2 separate regions of the Homo sapiens genome follow, and region 2 is linked to region 1. Evidence: promoter capture Hi-C in 16 types of primary human blood cells and fetal thymus (Javierre and others, 2016). All regions are on one chromosome and are shown on one strand. Each heading gives the region's core, a stretch centred on a gene start or on the middle of the fragment in contact. The rest is flanking DNA. Distances are from core to core; before and after follow the strand shown.

What was found. The method cuts DNA at HindIII sites, captures the fragments that hold promoters and counts their contacts. A CHiCAGO score of 5 or more calls a contact.
Region 2: a contact is called between a fragment that was not itself captured here and the fragment with the promoter of GYG1 in region 1, in 1 of 17 cell types (naive CD8 T cells). The highest score is 6.1, in naive CD8 T cells.

Annotation. Positions count from the first base shown.
Region 1 is chr3:148,988,136-148,993,868 of GRCh38, forward strand. GYG1 (glycogenin 1) reads left to right here and starts at 3,405. Exons shown (of 8, transcript NM_004130.4): 1 at 3,405-3,512. The coding sequence starts at 3,506. RefSeq lists silencers at 3,044-4,093, 4,127-4,421. The HindIII fragment of the contact is 9,660 bases long and covers 1,357-5,733 here.
Region 2 is chr3:150,404,247-150,409,979 of GRCh38, forward strand. It overlaps TSC22D2 (TSC22 domain family member 2), which reads left to right and starts at 4,052. Exons shown (of 3, transcript NM_001303264.2): 1 at 4,052-5,733. The coding sequence starts at 5,105. RefSeq lists silencers at 4,143-4,742, 5,413-5,582 and an enhancer at 5,113-5,162. The HindIII fragment of the contact is 923 bases long and covers 2,494-3,416 here.

The DNA.
Region 1 (5,733 bases), core at 2,155-4,654:
ATAGGTAAATCTCAATAGACAAATGTTTAGACAGAAAGTAGATTAGTAGTTGCCCAGGACTGAGGGAAAGAAGAAGAGAGTAAGGAGTGACTGCTAATGGGTACAGATTTCTTTTGGGTTGATGAAATTGTTCTAAACTTAGATTGTGGTAATAGTTGTACAACTCTGTGAATACACTAAAAACCATTTAGGTATACACTTTAATTCAGCACAAGTGGCTGAATTTTACACAATGTGAGTTATGTAACAATAAGGATTAAAAAAAAAAGCTATGTAACCAGCCATCAGGCTACTGCAACTTTTGGAGTTTGGGACTCTAGCTTTCAAGTGAAGAACGGACTACTTTGGGCCTCCAAGGATATTATTTCTTGAAACCAAACTTTTGCTTGATATTGTGATTACCGACAACAATCCCAGGTACAGATTGTGTATGTTATCAATTAAGGGCAAAATTTTAAGTTAGTTGACTAGTTAGTTCCTGTGTCTGGCCAGATGTGGTATATGTATTTCACAAACTTTCCGTGGGAACCATTTGATTCTCAGGCGAGTAGGTTGCCCTCTGCTCCGGAATATATTTCCAGGTCAGTTGCCCCCACCATCAATTAGTGTGTGTGCTCAAAAGAATGCAAACTGATTTCAGCATTATCTTAAACAAAACTTAATTAGGAAGGTAAGTATCCTGCCAAAAAAATTACATAATGCATTACAAAGCCAATTTAAAATGAATTTTGGACCATTCCGAATATATGAATTCAGCATAGGTTTAAATGGTTAATAGTCATGCCTACTGATGTAGGGTATAACTTATCTTTTTTAACTTAAATCTTTCTTTTAGGATTCTGTAATTTTACTAGTTCAAGTTTCACAAGAAAAAAAATAACAAGCTAAAATCTGAAACATTTGCCTCACTATACCATGTTTATCCACTACCTCTAAGGCCTTACAATCCAAAATGTTTGAACACCTCACTATTCAAAGTGTGGGTCCATAGCCTGGGGATCACCTGGGAGACCCACCCCCAAACTACTGAGTCAGAATCCGCATTTTAATAAGATCCTTGGGCAATCTGTGTGCGCATTAAAGTTTGAGAGGTCTTGCTCTCACACCAGACTGAAGCTCACTGCAGGGCAGCCTCAGGAAAAGTAGGCAGTGGGGTCATTATGATCTATATTAAGACAATGAAGAAGAACAGATTGTAGCAACCTCAAAATGTCCCTATTTGATTCAAAGTGGTAAAAGCTGTAAACTTTCTATTTGTGTAAATATACATGAAGCTCAGGAAGGGAAGCTGTGGTAACCGTTCCTTTTACTTAAACGTCCTGGGAGTTGCAGCAGAGAGGAGCTTGTTCTAAGGGAAGCTTTTCTGTTTTTCCCAGTTGTCCCCAGTTCTACCTCCTGGCTTTGCCCTTTCAGCCCCATCACCACATCCCTGGCTAAGTCCAGCCTGAGATAGTAGGCTGCAAGAAGTAGATGGTTAAGGGTCAGCTGATGGCAGGAGGGTTCTGGGTGAAAGATGGAAATCTCACTCTTCCAAGTTCACCTCTCAGTCTGCAAAAGAGCAATCAGACTGAGAAGTACCTCTCTTTGTTTTCCCTCTCCCCACTTAAGATACAAAAGTGTAGCCTTTGTGTTCCTTAAAGAGCTCCAACTCTTCTATGTCTATATCTTTTGAATAAGTGGAAACCCATCTATTGCCCTTTCCACTTTTCTGTTTCCTACAACGGAAGCACATAATGCCAAGTAACTGGGAGGGCCTCCCATGTGATCAGCGGTCTCTAGGCCATGGTCAAGACTAGGAAGGACTCAAGAGAGGCTCCTGGAAGGTGATATTTAAAATACTGATTTTAAGGTTCTACCCTTAAGATTCTTTTTGTTTTGTAACCTGTTTTTCTTCAAATAATATATTTTGAACAGCTTTTTATATTAAAAATATATAATGATTATGCCTACAGAGTATTTCATTACCTCAAGAGTATATGACGCGACTTCAAAAAGTCCATAGAATATACATATTATAAAAAAAAAATGCATGGATTTCAAAATTATTTTGCACCAAAATAAACCTACCCTTAAGATTCTGATTCAGGAGGTCTGGGCTTAGGCCCAAAAATCTACGCTTTAACCAGTGCCCCCAAGTGATTCTGATGTAGGAGATCCACACCCACACACGAGGAAACAGTGATATAACTGGTTTGAGGACAGCAGTACCACCTTTGCAAATAAATCACTTATTCTTAAGCATCTGTTTTGCTTTTTGAACTGATGTCAACTTCCTGATTGGTTTCCAAATGGCTTTGCAGTACTCATTCAACATTTACCGAGCAATTTCAGTTTTCAGTTTGCAGAGAACTGAACTACCCGAGGCTTGTTCTGTGTTTGGACTGGGGATGGGGAGCAGAGAAGGATGTGATCACATTAAAGCTATTTCTCAACTTCCTAGAAAAATGACAAATTGACCATTTCAAGATTTGTGAAACAGGTTAGCATTGGCTAACCACAGTTACAATAATTTACTAACCTTTTTGGAGCCCCTGTGTACAAGAGGCACCAAGACTTTCTGGGTGGGAAGGTTGATTCTGTAACCAAACTGCCAGGGTTTAAATCCTACTTTCTCCATTTATATTATATGACTATAGAAAAGTTAGCACTTTGGGAGGCTAAGGCTGGCAGATCACTTGAGGCCAGGAGTTCCAGACCAGGCTGGCCAACATGGTGAAACTCTGTCTCTACTAAAAATACAAGAAAAAAAAGAAAAGAAAAGTTAATTTAACTTTTCTGAGCTCAGTTTCCTCCTCGTCTGTAAAATGAATATGTAACACCTCACTGAGTTCGTACAAGGATTAAATGAAGCACTTAAATGCCTAATTGATGCAGATGGCTCCAAGAATTTAACATTTACGAAATATTCACTATATTTTTTAGGTTAAGGGTACAAAACCATTGTGAGTACACTAAGGAATGATTATAGAGGCTGATCGAAATTCTGCAAAAAAAGCGTAAATTTTACGTTTCATTCAAGCAGTTCAGACTCACGATTTTAACTAGAGTAATCTGGGGTTTGTTTGCTTGTTTTTTAAGGTTCCCTAACCCTTGGCTTCTTGGGGAGTTTGATGCCGCACTCAGCCCCAAAGTCCCCCTTAACTCCCAGGTTTAGCGGCGACAGGGGGCGCGCGGTTGACAAGGGCAGGCGCCCCGGGGAAGTAGGAGCAGGGGCGCCGGTGAGCCGCAGCCGCAGCGGCAGCCTAGCCCCGAGGGAGGGAGGAGGAGCCGAGGGAGACGCGGGACCCGGAGCCCCGCGGGCCACCGCCCCTGCCGGCCGCGCAGCTGGGAGGATGCGGACGGCAGCGAGAGCGTGCGCGGCCACGTGACGGCCGCTATAAGAGCGCACGGGGCAGACGCTCGGTTCCCCGCCGTGCCTCCTCGCTGGCCGCGCTCCCTCCCGGTGCCGGCTTCTCTGAGTCACCAACCTGAGGCTGCCCCGGCCGCCTGCGCACCCGGCAGCACCATGACAGGTACCGCCGCGCAGCCCGCCGCCGCCAGCCCCGGGACCCCGGCTTCCTGCCCAGCCGCCGCCTCCCTTCTCCTCCGCCCTCAGCCCCGGAGTGTTCCCGGCAGGACGAAACCGCCGCAAAGTTGCTGGCTGGCCGCAGCCGGGCGTGTTTCTGCCTGCGTCAGCTGCCGCCCCGCCGCCCCCCAGAGTGCAGGGATGGGGCAGCCGGGCAGAGCCCGGGCCCTCGGCCGGAGCTCTCGTTCCTGCTTCCGTCTCCTCGTCCTTCCTCTTGCTCTCACGGCGAAGGGCCGGCGGGCGGAGCAGCTGCGGCGGGGCCGTGTGGGGGTGGGGAGCCGGTTCCCCTGGGGGTTCCAGGCGGGAGTCCGGGGCGCAGCGGCATCGTGGGGAGCTGCCCCGGCCTCTGGCGGCCCGGAACCCCAGGAAGCAGGGGCTCCGAGGCGGGGATACTGCGGCCTCCGCCCGGCTCCTCCGCCGCCCGCCCCGGCCCCGGCCGCCACGCTGAGCCTATTTTTAGGCCTTTGGGGCCGGGTTGCGGGAAGCCGGGAGTCGGACTAGCGTCCCCGGGCGCGAGCCCCGTCTGGTGGGAGGGCGCCGGCTTTGGCTTCACTTGTTGCGAGGCGTCCGGGCCACTCCACGAGTTAGCCCCAGCACTGGGAAGCTCCGAGTTAGCTGGTCCTTCCGTGTCATTGAGGCTAATAGCCAGGGTTATTACAGCAGTTGAACTGCCACAAAGATTGCAGGTGTAACCCAGAGTTCAGCCGTCTTTAGGAAGATTAAACTCCTACCCAGCTGTCATTGGTCTTTCTTGGTCATTTGTAATGTTGGCTAGTCTGGTGTTCTAACCTGTGTTCTATCCCTTATTTAATCTTGGAAATCATCCATATCCTTGCTTCCAGAAATCCTTGAATCCTGCTCACCTTATTACATTTTTCTCCATGATCGCCTGGAACCTGGACTTCATTTGAGTTAGATGATCATTCATTTTGCCTAGCTTAAGTATTTTTGGTACAGATTGACAGCGATGTTACCCATGTTATAATGGGCTGAAGATAATAGAAGCAAGTACAGGCGGATGTTGATGGGCCTGTCAAGGGACAGGTGCCACTGTTCAGAGCTTTCCTAGAGTGTGAGTGACTGGGAAGCTGGTGGCCCTTCGGGGGTGGGGAACTGGTCTTCCTACAACTTAGTAGTTGGCCTGCCGTGGGAGAGGGCCTAATAAAATGTGTGAAGATGGCTCTCAGGTCAGCAGCCGAGGGATGCGCTGGCCCACTAGGCAACCCACAACTTCCTCTCATGTCTCGGTGGAATTTCTACTGCTTCCAGCCTCCACCTTGGAAAACGGGCAAGGGAGAATGAGGGAAAGCCAGGTCAGAAAGAGAAGGACTTCATGACAAAATGTCCCAACTCGCTGGTTAAGCAACTGACTCCTACCAGAACTTGATCCGAAGTGTCCTATGCATTTGGATGCCCACCAACTTGCTAATGTTTCTTGGAGATGGAACATGGCCCAGAATTGTCCCAGGGAATGACTGGAGAAATCTTGAAGCCTGTGCTAGGGGTCTTGGGAGGGTGGGGACTGTTCAGCAGGAGGAAAAATCCATGTATTTACCTTCTCTTCTGGCAACTAAGTGATTATTGGAGATTGGGGTGCGTGTCTGTTGGTTTGGGCGGGGGGAGGGGGAGGGTGCAGGATGGACCTGCACCTTCTTCTCCAAAGAAAAGCAGGCAGTTGTTTAGGGCTTCTTGGGTGATCTCCAAATCTATTTATCAGTGATTGATAACTATTTAGATAGAAGCATCAAGGAGGGAAAGCCTCTTTGAGGAGCTGATACTTGAGGAGAGACTCAATGTTATTTTTCAGGGATATTGGGGCAGGGGAGCTTTTGCTCCACGTTGAGGAAACAGTTATGTATAAGATGCCTGGAGTTCGAGGCTGCAGTGAGCTATGATCACACCACTCCACTCCAGCCTGGGTGGCCGAGTGAGACCCTGTCTTAAAAAATACATACATACATACATTCCTGAGGCATGGCATAAACGTAAGCACCAGAATGAAGAATATGGACTCTGCTTTCAGACTGACTGAATTGAGTTTGACGGTTGGTTTTGTGCTTGTCTGAAAACACTGTCTACAGTACCTTGTAGAAGAAACAGCAAATGTACTACTTGATCTCTTCATTACCATCTGTTAGTTGCCTGGAGTTCAAACTCTTGGTATTAAG
Region 2 (5,733 bases), core at 1,705-4,204, 1.4 Mb after region 1:
AAATAGCTCATCTATGACAGAATATGGCTTCTCCATAAAATCATGGATGTCTAGTAACTGCTTTCTTCTTCTTTTTTCAATTAACAAATGGTATTGCCAATAGTATCACATTGAGTTGCTATCTTTTCTTCTGAAGATGCCAAAGCTGCCACATCTGTGACCTTTTTCCATACTTTTTCAGTGGATTTGGTAGTTTAACACCTCTTTACCACAATGTTATTTCTTTTTAGTGATAGGGGAACTGAGGGAGTAATAGACTTGTCAGCAATCACAAAACGAGATTATAGCAAAACTGGAGCTTACTCTTGATCTGTCCAACTAGGAAATGTAGTTTAAAAAAAACTTCATCCTGACTGGCCACATATAATATTTAAAAAGAAAAATAAAGAAGTAATATAGTCATTAATGGATTTTGTTTGGATTTTCTGTTGCCCTACATTGCAGAATTTAAACAAGCTTGTAAAACCGCAGAGCTAATATCTTACATTCTAAGTTAAATTCCATAAAATATAATACAGGTCTTAATAGGACATTATGTTTATTTCAGTTCGAAATGCACCCTTTACTTTTACCAAATTGCTACATTTTGCTTGAACATCAAAGGTCTTTGGAAGTCAAGGAAATCTTCATTAAAAAAAAAAAAAAGACAACATTGTTTCATAGTATATTAAACTCAAAAAGAGTATTTAATAGAAGTTTCCTTAAAAACACCTCATTATCAAGTAAGCATTTGTGCATCTCAGTCAAATTATACTTTTCTTTATAATAGTATTTATGGAATTTTATTAGCCTTAGTCCTTTCTCATTACATTTTTTTTTCCTTTTTGGGCAATACCACACAATGGTCTCACTGAAAGGGTTTATTAATATGATATTGTTCCAGAAATGGAACCCTACGAAAATCATAGTAATAAATCAAGTACTACTTATTTAGACAACTGATATTTATTTCCAGCAAATGCTTTGTGGAACCTGAAAACTATTCTCCATTTTGTATTTTTCTATTAGGTTGGTGCAAAAGTAATTGCAGTTTTTGCCATCATGTAAGTGACAAAAACCACAATTACTTTTGCACCAAACTAATAACAATTTGGTAATAAAAAACACAGAAAATAAGCATAAACTATTTCTAAACTCCAGAAAAAATTGTTGACTGGGATATAGGTAGTCCAATTCTTAATACACAACACAGGGAATGTTCAATAAATGTCACTGTCTAACTGATAGTATTAATGCTAAAGGGTTACTTCTCTTTGCCTAGGCCATTGCTTAATTTCTATGGAAAGTATTTTCTTTATCCCATAATGTTTAATGCATCATTATTATTTTAAATATAATATACCTTCATTGAAAAAAAAGAGGTTTTCTTGAGTATCTAGAGTTTACATTCCAGGATTTTCTATGAAATAATTCACCATCTGCTACTGATGAGGTTAGATAATAACTTAGGAAAATTTGGGGGTATGATGTTTACAGATGATGAAAAGATGTTGCTGTAGCAGTTTTTTATTTTCATCAGTAGAAACTGTCCTTAGTTTTTAACTGCTTTTATTCCCCTGCATTATGTTTTCTAAATGTATCTCCCATGCATCACTGCAATTTGAAATATTTGAAAAAAGTACCAGGTACAGAAGAAACAGTCAAGTTGGGGGCTCTAAGAGCAGTAATCGAGGATTCCCACAGCCTCTAGTATGGTCTCTGGGTACAGGCATGCAGCCTGGTAACTGCATTAAGACTCCTAGTCTTGAGGTTTGGGACTCCAAGGATCTCTTTATTCCAGTGAGTTAGGCTACCATCTTACTTACTAACCACTCTCTATACAGGGAGCATATGTACTTGCATATACATACTGCTTTCTATCATTTAAATTAGTTATTGAAAGGCTTTCAATTCTTTGTGGACCAACTTTTGAATTACATACTTTTTTGTTTAGATATAGCTATGCCACTTTTTGTCCTCTACGTTGATTTCCAACTTACTTGCAAAAATCAGAATTCTTATTTCTTTGTAGCAGTTTGATGTAATAAATTCTGTACATTTTTTAAGGGCAAATGTATAAAAGTAGCTAGGGCTTTTAAACTTTTGGAAAACAATATTTTCAAGAGAACTATTAAACACAAATCCTTAACCATCTAAATGACACTTTTAAAAGTTATAAATCATATGCTTTTCCTAAGATGTCTTTTAACATCTTTAGCCCCCTCCTTACCAGAAATTTAGTCCACTTCTGGATCTCTTCTAAATTATCTTTATCTTTCCTTTCATCTCATAATATATCATTTTAAGGAGAAATGGTCTTACAGATTACTTTAAGATTTTTCCTCTAAATGTACGATTTAAGAGTATCATAACGAGTAATCAAGAAGTTTATATGATAAGATAATGTAAAGGGATGAGCAGGCATATAATACTCATTTTTCCAAAAGCACCACCATCAACACTACCCATTATAACCACCTTAAACATCTGGTAAATCAATCCAAAATTAAATTAAGCTTTTATAAATTCATATTGGGTTTAACCATTTGATCTAACTTATTGATGGAAAACTGCCTCTAACAATTACTGAAATTACAGACTTAGAAATGAAACATTCCATTAGCTATCTCTGCCACAATAGCATAACGTTACATTTTGTTCCATTACTTTCGCCCAGCCCCTTAAGAAATAGGGATTTTATGTCGTCTTATTTCACATTCTGACTCCAGTCACTTGGGTTTGGAGGGCATGGTTTCCACTAAAGTTAAAAGACCTAGCTCTATAAATTACAACTAAAGACCTAAAAAATTCTCTGCAAATTTAATTCTCAAAACATCTTTTGGGATAAAAAGTATTTCTATTCTTCAAAGATTAGAGAACCGAGTTCAACGATTTACTGATTTAAGTTATCATTATGTGATTGCTAACGCTGCAGTAGATATGAAATCACGATTTCCATTAAGACTTAGATTTTACCTAAATGACGACTGCTTTAGTATGTCAAAGTTTAGGAGCCCATCCCCATTTTTTTAAACTGCTTAAAAGAATGGCCTTAGCATGCCAAAGTTTAAGAGCCCATCCCCATTTTTTTTTAACTGCTTAAAAGAATGGCCTTACCATTTTCTTTGGCCAGGAACTAACTACAAGATGATAAATTTGCCAGTACTTTCTTTTCATAGTTGTTCTTTGCATTGGAACAGGAAAGGGTGCTTTATCACTCGTTACGGTTGTTCATGGCCCAATCCAAATCATATAATACGCTGGCTGCTACTAACAGTTTTAGAATAAACAAAAAGAAGAACTATAATGCAGTAGGTTCTACATTTATAAAGCCCATGAGCTGATTTCGTGCCGAAAGTAAAACAGTCTCAAGAGTTTAAATGAATCCTGGAATCACAGCAAATTCAGGAAATTTAGGAATATGTTGGTAACCCTTAAGCTTTTTAAAAACTGACTACACCCTGGGCAAGTAACCACCCCCTGATGCCGTTGTGGGAGACAGAATTTCTGGCAGGAAGATAATTTTCTGACTCAATCTGGCTTGCCGTTCTTGTTTAATCATCCCCATTTCTCTGAACATTTTACTCCTCTGACTACAATGGTCAACATTTATTTTCAGAAGTTTTAAAGTGATTTAGTTCTTCCAGCCGCACCTCTTTTTATCCCATCTAAGTCTTCCCCAGCCCCCATTCCTATCGCCCTCGTTTCACTAAGATTTTGCTAAACATTAGACACAAGCACATGACCTCCAGTCTTCCACTGTCTCGGAACAAACCGACATAAAAACATCTGATTAGTTCCATTGTAAGCTTCCCTAGGCTTAGAATTTAAAATGGTCTTTAGCTCGTCAATGCTTAAAGAACCTACAACACAAAATTTAAATTTTAAAAATTTTAAATAAAGAAACCGCTCCCTTTTTTAACCTTTAGCCCCGCCCATTGCCCCCCACCCCAGGTTCCACGCGAAACTGCAGGAAACCGGAGGGGGCGGAGCGGTGACGTCACGACGCCGGTGCGTCACGGAACGGCGGCGGCTGCGGCGCTGGCGGTGGCTGCGGCAGCGGCGGCATTTTAGTCGGCAGCGGCGGCGGCAGCGGGGCTGCTGCTCCTCCCAGCATCCCTGGCGCGGCCATTTCAGCCCCATCTTGGCCCAGCGGAGGGAGCTGCAGCCGCCGCTTCAGCAGTTTGAATTTCAGTTTCTTCGGGGTTTAGGAATTGGGCGCACCGAGGAGGAGCCGGAGAAGCCACCACCGCTACCTCACACAGCCGGGGCGCCTCCGGTCCCGTGCCAGCGGTCTGCCGCCGCCGCCCCTCTCTGAGAGAAGCCGCGAGGGGAGGCCGAGACCGCCGTCGCCGCCCGCCCGCAGGGGTGGTTCCCCCTGTAAGGGGAGGACCGAGCCGGCTTTCCCCTCCCCCAGAGCGGGTTTCCGCCTGAGGCAGTCGACATGTCCCTGGGGCTGAGCTCCGGCTAGAGCCGGGGAGGGAGGGCCGCCTGCCCGCGCCACAGCCCCACCGCCCGCCCGCGGACCTTCAGCCAGCTCCGGCCCGCGGCTCCCGGCTGAATTAGGCATCTCCGACTCCGGACTCGCCGCTCCTTCCCTCAGTCAGAGAGCCCAGCGCTGACGCCGGCACCGGCCTGAGGAGCCCGAGCGGGGCAGCACCGCCCCTCACGCCGCCGCCACCGCCTCCTCCTCCTCCTCTTCGCCCTCCCACTCCCACCCCCAGCCAAGGCCTGCTGACCGCGCCGAGCGCCGAGCTGGACTGACCACGGCTGCCCGGAGACGAGAGAGGAAGCAGCCGGCCCGCCCCTGGGTTCGCGCTCTCGCCGCCTCTGAGGGAATTGAATTGAGGCGCCGCGGCTGCGAGAGCTAAAAAGGAAGGAGGAGCCGCCGCGGGACTGAGACGGGGGCAGAGCCGAAGAGACCGACACAGAGAAGGAAACGAGGAGGAGGATGTCTCACCGGGCGGCCAGCGCCTGGATCAGCCCGTGACTCTTAACAGCGGCGGGCCTCAGACCCCAGCGCAGACTCGGACTTTGTCTTTGGGGGCCCGTGCTCTGCCCTCCCCGGTTTCCGACAGGACCCAGAGGAGCCGGCGTGCCTCTCTGCCCTCCAGCCTTCTTCACCATGTCCAAGATGCCGGCCAAGAAGAAGAGCTGCTTCCAGATCACCAGTGTCACCACGGCCCAGGTGGCCACTAGCATCACCGAGGACACCGAGAGCTTGGACGACCCGGACGAGTCACGCACAGAGGACGTCTCCTCCGAGATTTTCGACGTCTCTCGGGCCACGGATTATGGCCCTGAGGAGGTCTGCGAGCGCAGCTCTTCCGAAGAGACGCTTAACAATGTTGGGGATGCGGAGACTCCCGGGACCGTCTCCCCAAACCTCCTCCTAGATGGGCAGCTGGCAGCGGCGGCTGCTGCTCCCGCCAACGGAGGAGGAGTCGTTTCGGCCCGGAGCGTGTCTGGGGCGCTCGCCAGTACCCTGGCGGCGGCTGCCACTTCGGCCCCCGCCCCCGGAGCACCCGGCGGCCCCCAGCTCGCGGGCTCATCCGCCGGGCCAGTGACTGCAGCCCCATCTCAGCCTCCCACCACATGTAGTTCCCGTTTTCGCGTGATCAAGCTGGACCACGGGAGCGGAGAGCCCTATAGACGCGGCCGATGGACGTGTATGGAATACTATGAGAGGGATTCAGACAGCAGCGTCCTGACTAGATCCGGGGATTGCATTAGACACAGCAGTACTTTTGACCA